Regions from separate parts of the Homo sapiens genome. Here region 2 is linked to region 1. The links are contacts of gene promoters, found by promoter capture Hi-C in human tissues and cell types (Jung and others, 2019). All regions are on one chromosome and are shown on one strand. Each heading gives the region's core, a stretch centred on a gene start or on the middle of the fragment in contact. The rest is flanking DNA. Distances are from core to core; before and after follow the strand shown.

Region 1 (4,352 bases), core at 819-3,318:
ATAAGTCCTTAAAGAGTGAATTCTTCTCCTACGGTACAAAAATTATAGGTTAATACAGGATACAAGTGTGGCCAAGCTTGCAGTAGGATGAATCACCCCAAAAATTGCTTTAATTAGGTGGCCAAGAAGTGCGTTATTTGAAGTGAGAACATCTGTTGCAACAGTCACAATTTAGGAGGGTGGACCACATCCAGCACTGACATTTAAGGGCAATTTACGAGAATTACTGTTAAATTACAAGAATGATATGTTTACTTCATTGTGTCCATCAGTAGGAAGAATAATTATGCCTGACTTGATTAACGGAAGTCCTTATGATTTTGGAAATTTGCCTTTTAATTACTCAGACATGGACCATTTTGAAGAATGTGTGTTTGATAACATTTATTCCAGACTGTGGTTGGCTGTTGATCAGAAGGTAAGTTGCCTTTGTACCTTCAAATTTCCCTAAGTCTGCCTTCATTTTATTCTCTAGGAGCCGACTCTTTCCTCCCACTCTCAAGATCTCATTAAAAATATGAACTCGGTAATGTGAATTTGTTCACTGCAATTACTCCTTAGTATCCACAGTATGTATACTAAAAGTGAATGAAGGGGGAAGAGACACACAGACACACAGACACACACACACACACACACACACACACAAGCACACAAATGCATTAGAAATTATGCAGTGGTAGACACCGTGCTGTGTGGGTGGAACAACTTTTTGGAGTACTGGGTGTGGTCAGACAATACCATCCCCCATCTAGTCAATATCTTTGTCTAGCACTTTGGCAGCCATTTTCAAGATGAAAACGGACTGATCTTCTTCATTCTCTGTTGACATGAAAGTCTGGCCATGGAACCTAGAGCTGGAAAGTGGCCTTGGGGTCCCTTTAATCTCTGTCTCACATTTTAGAAAAGGCCGTTTGACTTGCCCAAAGTCACGCAGCAAATTGGTGTCAGACTCATGGGAAAAACCCCGGTCTCTTGAGTCTCATCTCAATGTTGATATTTCTCAACTTGCTGCGTTCATAATGTTTGCTTATCACTGGGAACATGTCAAAGGGGTAATTCTCAGGCTCAAACAAAATTTAGAGCAGATTTGAGTTAAAAAATGTTACCATTTCCATGACTAGAAAGTGAATTGAGACACTTATATTACTTTTCAGAATGTACCCACTCCAAGTAGCATCCATTCTTCTTTCCAGGGTTCACTGACTAGCCACTGGGAAAGGCTCCAACCAGAAATGCTGATCATTAATCTGTATAAATCCGTAGAAGCTTTAATTGGGATTCCATCTGCTTAAGGCCCTGTCCCCTGTACTTTCATTTTCCTTCCTCCAGAGGGCGCCTTATAACCATCATCATATCAGCATCGTCATCCTCCTCCTCCGGACAAGCCTTACAATGCCCAGAAGATAAAAGCTCTTAGGAGGTGAGTTTTACATTACTCAGTTGAAGGGCTTTCTAACGCAGGCCTCAAGTTTTACAAGGTGGACATCAGTGCGGTTATGGGGCCTGTGGGGTGCAGGCCCTTGACTTCCTCCACCACATTGGTCGTTAATATCTCATCCTTAGGGAAAAAGACCTTCCGCTCCCTTTGGGGGTTACTAAGCTGAGGAGCCAGACCGAGTTAACTGTCTCACTCTGAACTTAGAGGAAAAGTTCCCTAACTTTTGGCAAGGCTTTTATGTTTTCATTTTTTAAAGTAATTTCCATGTTTCTTATCAATTCCGGCGTTTTCCCACATGCCTGAGAGTCTGCCCTCCAAGTGTACCTGGAATTCAGGTTACAGGTTTTCCTTTTCAGGGCAGGGTGCCCTCCCATCTAACCTCTCTACCCAGTCTCCCCCAAACAAGCTGAAGGCACTTACATTGGCATGTTGCTAGGCATAAGGTTACTGCAAGCAGCAACAAAGTCCGCGTATCCACAAAGCTGAGCATGTCTAGCACTTAGACATGCAGACTCCTTGTGTCGCAGAGCCCCTGGGTCACCGGCGGAGGTATCACCTGGCGGGCGCGGGCATGCAGTCGTGGCCAGTACCTCCAACTTAGCCGAAACCTCCTGCTGCCGTGGTGCTAAAATAATAAAGCCCGGATCTGCCCTATTTATACGGCAAAAGTTTCCCTGGCCCTAGGGTGCCTCCAAAAGGGCCTCCACCAATGGGAGGGCTGGGGCTGGGGGCCCGGGCAGCCACAGCTGGGAGGAGCCTGCGGGGGCGCAGAGGAGGGAGCGAATGGGGGAAGGGACGTGGCCACGGGGCTGGCTTCTTAAATTGGTTCCATTCTTTTTGAGGACGTGGACACTTTTGAGGCTTTCAAGGGGAAACTCTGACTCGTTGTCTGCATACCTCCGCCCTCCGCATCCTCCCGCCCTCCCCCGCCCTTTCCAAGTTTGGAAACACTATGGGACACGTCGGAGTGCTCTGCAGCCCCGACATGGGCAGAATTTGCAGATCTCCGGCGATCAAAGCAGGAGCTGTCCAGTCCCGCCTCACCTGTGCCCTGTAGGCCACTTGTAGGGTGGAGGGCTCCAGCGGGAGCGGAGGGGGCAGAGAAGGAGGGAGGGAAGACTCGATAGCGTGGCGCAGCCGGAGCCCGCCTCCCCGCCCCTCCACCCCTGCACCCCGCCCCCAGCCCCGTCCAGCTTTTCTCTAGCTTTGGGGCTCGTGTGCGCCCACTGTTTCAGCAGTGATGCACTCTCTTTGTCTTATGACTTCGGGAAAGGGCGGGTCCTGTCTGTGGAGGGCTGGGTTGCAGTCGGAGGGCGCCTTTTGTTGGCAGGTGGGCTGGGGAGCAGGCTCGAGGCTGCTTGGCACCCGGCTACAGGGAGGATAGGCTTTGCGAACTCTAGACTAGACCGAGTCACCTGGGGAAGTCCTTCGACCTCCTAGCTTGCCTTTGCTGAGGCTCATTCCAAAGAGGGTCTTTTGGGGGATGGTCTGGCACTCCGACACGACTCCAACCGACCTGGAGACCGAGAACTTATTTCTCAGTCTCTCCTTTCTGAGGCTGCGGTGGGGGATCTTTCATGGTTTCCAGTCTCCCCTCCCCTTCTCCATGGGCTCCTTGTCTGGATTTACCAGTTCTACCCTGAGCCTGGACCCTTCAACCCTCCCGTGAGCCCCCCGGTCCCTCTTGACCTTGCTGCTTACTCTCTGTCCCATCTCTTACAGCCACACCCAAGCACCTCCCCTAGCACATCCAGAGGCCCTTCTGATTCGAGCTTGGGGTCTTCGTAGTCTTCGCTGGTAACACCCCAAGCAGTGCGCCCACCAACGTGGATGTTAACTCTCTCCCCAGCACCCAACTTCCCTCTTCTCTGGCCGCCTCCATCCAACCCTCCACTCCCTACTAGGGAGAGGAGGAACTGGTACTTTGACCCTGAGGTGGGAGGCCAAAGGTCCTGTGCCTTTTTCTAAAGCCTCTTGGGATGGCATTCCAGGCCCTAGGTTTGAAAGGCTGTGTGTGTGTGTGTGCGCGCGCGCGCGTGTGCGTGTGTGTGTGTGTGTGTGTGTGTGTGTCAGGCCTCTCCTCTACTTGCCTAAGGTCCCCATGAGGCAGCGGGGGCCTAGTTAGAGTGCTGCTCTATCCCAGAAGTCATCGCAAAGGGGGCATCTTTAGGTCAGTTCTGTCTCTAAGAAACAGAAGCAAGTGGGCTGTAGTTCCCTGAGAATCTTTTTCCCTTCCTTCCCCCCACCCCCTCCCCGCTTTTTTTGCTTTGCCTTAAGGAAGAATTTCTGCAGAAGTTAACTCCATCAGCAGCTTCTGTAAATAAAAGGGACTATTCTAAAGCAGGTTACTCTTTCTAAATGTAAAAGAAGAAAAAAAGGTTAATGCAAGTAAAAGTGGATAACCAAAAACTATAATAAACTCTTGTTTTATTCTAATTAAAGGCACTCACTTGGGAGACCACTTTGGATGATTTTTTGAAGTAACTGGGAGTGAAAGAATTTGAAAGGGTTACTGGTCATTCCTAGAAGGGGGTTTACAGGGAGCAATCCACATTCAAATTTTTTTCTAACTAGGCAACAATGTTTGAAGTTTTCTAGGTTCTAGGAACAACAACAACAAAAGACCTGAGGTTGAATTGTATATTCCAAGAACATTTTTAACATTTCCCTGAAATATCACCGTTACAGAACTAACAAAAAACTTTTAAAGTGGAAATCATTTTTATCAGGAAAGAAAAACTTCAATACTACATCATAACAAATTTTTTTCTGCATATCAGAAGAGTGAGAAATGATTTCTAAGAATCATTGTTACCACTGTGCTGAATTACCTTTGCAGGGCATATGTGTGTATTTGTCCTGTGTTGCTGAGAGTCAGAGACTAATTCTGAGCAAAATGACTCAGGGTGGT
Region 2 (4,352 bases), core at 1,102-3,601, 270 kb after region 1:
CACTGCATGATGACAGTGATGTTATTAACTGTCAGTGGCAGAAAAGCGAAATTTGAATAATTTTATTTTCCTTTTTCCCCACAAATTAAAACCACAATACCCCACTGGTTCTCTTTTCAAATTAAAAATTATGAGACTTTGAGCGGGCATTAGGGAGTAGACAGAACAGAGTTACGCTTGCAAGTCAGTTGTATTTCTATGCCCACGATGAAGATACAACCTGTCTATTTCATTCTCATACCATTGGAAATGCTGTGGCCTTTGCCTAGTTTTACCAGAAGCTTCATTTAATAACATTTTTGATTGTCTACTGTGTGCAGGGCACTGAATAAGCTACCAAATGGAAGCACTTGCCTTTCTTCAAGGAGTTTACAGTAGGAGAGATAGGCATGGATGTAACTTATAACCGAGGGCAGAAGGCAGAGGTGGTATTAAAAATGTAAAACAACCAGTGGGATAAAGCCAAGAGGCAACTGGGACAAATAGAGTACTAAAGATATGGATGCCAGCAGTCAACAGGGATTCTACCTGCACAGGCATATGCCTGATAGATGTTTGCACCCACAGAAAGTGACAAAGGCTGTGGGAGAGAGATAGACTGTGAATTCAGAATAGTTCCTTCTGATTAAAGGGATCAGAGGAAAGTATTTGGGGCTTTGAGGAATGGATGGAGTTTGAATAAATATTAGATGTAGGAAATGGCTGGAAATAAAAAAGGCATGAACTCAGAAAAGTTAGTGAATGTTCAAAGTTCAGCAGTGTTTCAGCTGTTTTCTGGATCAGGGGACATTGTAGATGGGCTGTGGGGTGGAGAGCTCACGGGAGGACTGTAGGTGGATAGGGAGAAATTCTAGGAGGCTGAAGACCAAGCCAGGACCTGGAGGAAGGAGCAGAGGTGTTGTTTGGACCAAAGGAAAGGTGCAGAGTATGTGAGATACTTCATCTGCTCTTGTCCCTGTAGGCTTTTGCATGGCAGGAGACAGAGAGAAACCCTGAAAGGAAGACTGAACCACAGGATTTCTGACCCTCTAGGTATGAACTGACCAACAAATCACTGCATTAGAATGAAAAATAATCAGAAATGACACTATTAAGTTGCTTGCCTGAAGTAGGTTGGGAGCTCGGATCAGAGATCTGACAATTACGGCTATAAAGAAAATCACATTTTCTGCTGACACGAATTTGTGATGGTGGAATTCATACCTGTGTTGCAGCTAAAGCATTTAGCTCCTATTAAAAGTTGGATATTCTCGGCAGCTGACGGAACAGGAGGATCTTCAAGATGTCTAAATTAAACTTTTCTTTTGCCAGTTAAACTCTTTTCTCTTTATCTGATTCCACTGGAGATAGAAAACAGATCCTTTTCCCACCCTCTGTGTCTTTGATTATTTTTCTTGTTCAGGGCGATTCTTTTATTCCCCCTCTAGCTTCCTATTTGTCAGACCTTAATCCATTTCAGTTTCTGTACACTGGATGATGTTCAAACCGAACTATAAAAGTATGCCAAGACAATGTTGAAAAAAATAAAGATGGCATTTTAGAGGCTGTATACTCTGTTCACCTAGTATACATTGTATTTTTATTTACTAAAAGTGAAAAACAAATTGCAAGAGATCATAGCTTTTAGACCTCAGAGTCAATCTTGGTCCATCTCATATTTATGAGCAATGTATATGACTTTTTATGGCCTTTATGATGGAAGATATTATGCCTTCTAGTCTGAGTTGGCACTTACTTGAACCACCAATCTAAATGTTGACTTCTGGTTTGAATGGGCCATTATGCATTCCAGGCCTCTGAGGCCTTGGTAAATTAGTAAGTGTTTCTTACATGGCAGAAGTCTTGCAATTTGGGAAAGTTGTATGAAAATGCAACTCAAGTGTTCCCATAATGTGGAATGATTTTATTTTTAGTTTCTTTCGACAGATCACGAAGCAATCCAACCCCAGTCCCATGATTTCTGACTGGTAATGGCCGAGGAAGAATGAGGGAAAATATTGTTCCTTTTGTTTGGGGACAGAGAATATTTATTTGATCTGTTGGTACCTTGAGGTTAGACCATTTTCCAGCTACTCCATTTCATGCTCTGCTCATTTCCTGAAGCATGCTTCTTATAAAGGGGCACAGTGATTAATCCCAGTCCTGGGAGAGGCAAGTCCATGGTTCTGATGGAGCAAACAATGGGCAATACTTTCTCTTTCATTCATACACTCTTTGAGCAACCCAGGAATCCACACATTTCACCCGGGAAACACTCAGGGGAAAGAATTGAGAGTTCGTTCTTCTCAGCACCTTCATGGTCCAGCTGCAATACTGAGCCTCAAAGCACGATCTCTTGAAATCAAGCTAGATTTCCCTGCTATTTATTTATAAGCAAGAAAAGTTGTCACTCTGATCTGGGTCTGTCATAGTGTGTGCCTCATTTTCTGTGTTGAGGATTAAAGGATTGGTTCTTGCAAATGAAAACATACTGTGATCCCTGCTAATCAGAAATTCTGCAGTTGGTTACACGGCTGAATGTAATATTACCTGTTGTCGGAAGTACTTTGTTAAGAACCTCAGGGGAGTGATAGGAGGAGAAAACAGGAGGTGACCAGCATTTAATAGGTTATGGTCATTGCCTTCATAGCCTTTATTTATTTTGCTGAATTCCCCTCATAATTTCCGGAGTGAGCTCCATCTTCGTTTTGCTATCTATTATTACACACACCACCATGGCACCCCTGGTGTTTGGAAAGTGCCCTAGATACTGGGAGCAGTGAATGAGAATGTGAATCTATCCCAAGGCTTGGGTATGAATTAGAGTAAATGCCCTTTTGAACAAGGTACTTGACTTTGTTTTGCAGAAACGTAGCTTTTGTTGCCTTTTAAATATCCTTTAATTCTCTCAGGGTGTGAAATCCTCTATTAATTTGCCCAGTTTCTATTAACCAAATCCCCTATATCCAGGTGGGATATTTACCTCAAACACTGCTGGAGAATTTCCAAAATATGGTTGAATGTATATCAAAATTTTCCATTCTTGAAGATTGCTTAGAGGAATTGAAACATACATTTTAACAGATAAAAGGAGTGATTATGAATTACTTAAATTGCCAGTTTCAACAACATTTAACTTATTTATTCAATATAGTATTATAGTTCTATAATACTATATATAGTACATATTTATTTTGTTTTATAATAGCAGCACGTGGTCACTTAGGATAAATTGGAAGAGAAAGAAACAGAAGTTATTTTGATGTAGTTTCACACTCAGAGATAAAAACTGTTTATATTTAAATATATTTCCCAATCTTGGTATATTTTTATAACTTGCTTCCTCACATATTTGTAGTGTTTCTCCCATGTTACTAAATATTTTTAAACATGTGCTTTTGTGACTAAATGACATTCTATTAAACAAAATTGCCATAATTTCTTTAATGCTTTGTTATTACTCATTTAGCTATTTCTTATTTTTTGCTATTACAATCACATTACGGTGAATGTTTTTGTGCATATTTGATTATTCCTTTAGAAATTCGAATTAGAAAAATTCCTGAGGGTTAAATTATTGCATTAAAACATTAACATTTTAAAACCATATACACTGTCAAATTGCCCTTCGTAATTTGCCCTGGCAATTTACAGTTTCTTCAACAGTGATTAAAATATGTTTTTTTTTAAACAGGATAAATCAGCTCTTCTAATAAAGAGAGTTTTTGATTTAAATAAAAGGTGTTTAAGATGTTAAAGAAAGGAGTTAATAATTTCAGAGGCTGTGATAGATGACACTGAGATGAGAAAACAGAAAACCATGTATAGTCTATTTCCAATTCCTGCTCCTTCATTAATTTCTCTCAGTATGAGCTGCAACACCAACAAAAGTTGTTTTTATTGCTTGCTTGCTTTTTCTTTTTCTTTCTTTCTTTCTTTCTTTCTTTCTTTTCTTTCTTTCTTTCTTTCTCTCTTTCTCTCTTCTTTCATTTCTTTGTTCTCTCTTTCTCTCTTTCATTCATTTGTTCTCTTTCTTTCCTTCTTTCTTTTTCTTTCTTTCTTTCTTTCTTTCCTTCTTTCTTTCTTTCTTTCTTTCTTTCTTTCTTTCTTTCTTTCTTTCCTTTTCTTTCTTTAGTTTTTGGCATTTGTTTGTTTTGTACTTTAGGGGAAGAATAATTCCTAATACTCTCAGTAAACTTATATGAGTTTCTCAGACCAATAAAGTGTCACAGAAACTCTGATCAGTGTGATTTCTGAAGGACAGTGGATCAACACATAGGCGTTCAAGAGCTCCTCTTCCACAGGACTCATTTTACACTCTGTTCAAATGTCTCCAGCAAGACTTAAAGGACTCCCAAACTATAGAAAGATCC

Evidence for each region. The method cuts DNA at HindIII sites, captures the fragments that hold promoters and counts their contacts. A contact is called where the count stands out against the background at its distance.
Region 2: a fragment that was not itself captured here is called in contact with the fragment with the promoter of COL1A2 in region 1 in 1 of the 25 tissues and cell types used here (spleen).

The regions. Positions count from the first base shown.
Region 1 is chr7:94,392,611-94,396,962 of GRCh38, reverse strand. It overlaps COL1A2 (collagen type I alpha 2 chain), which reads right to left and starts at 2,068. Exons shown (of 52, transcript NM_000089.4): 1 at 1,862-2,068. The coding sequence starts at 1,931. The HindIII fragment of the contact is 19,147 bases long and covers 674-4,352 here.
Region 2 is chr7:94,118,447-94,122,798 of GRCh38, reverse strand. No RefSeq gene overlaps it. Among named protein-coding and RNA genes, the nearest start is that of BET1, 120 kb to the right of the region's middle. The HindIII fragment of the contact is 8,090 bases long and covers 1-4,352 here.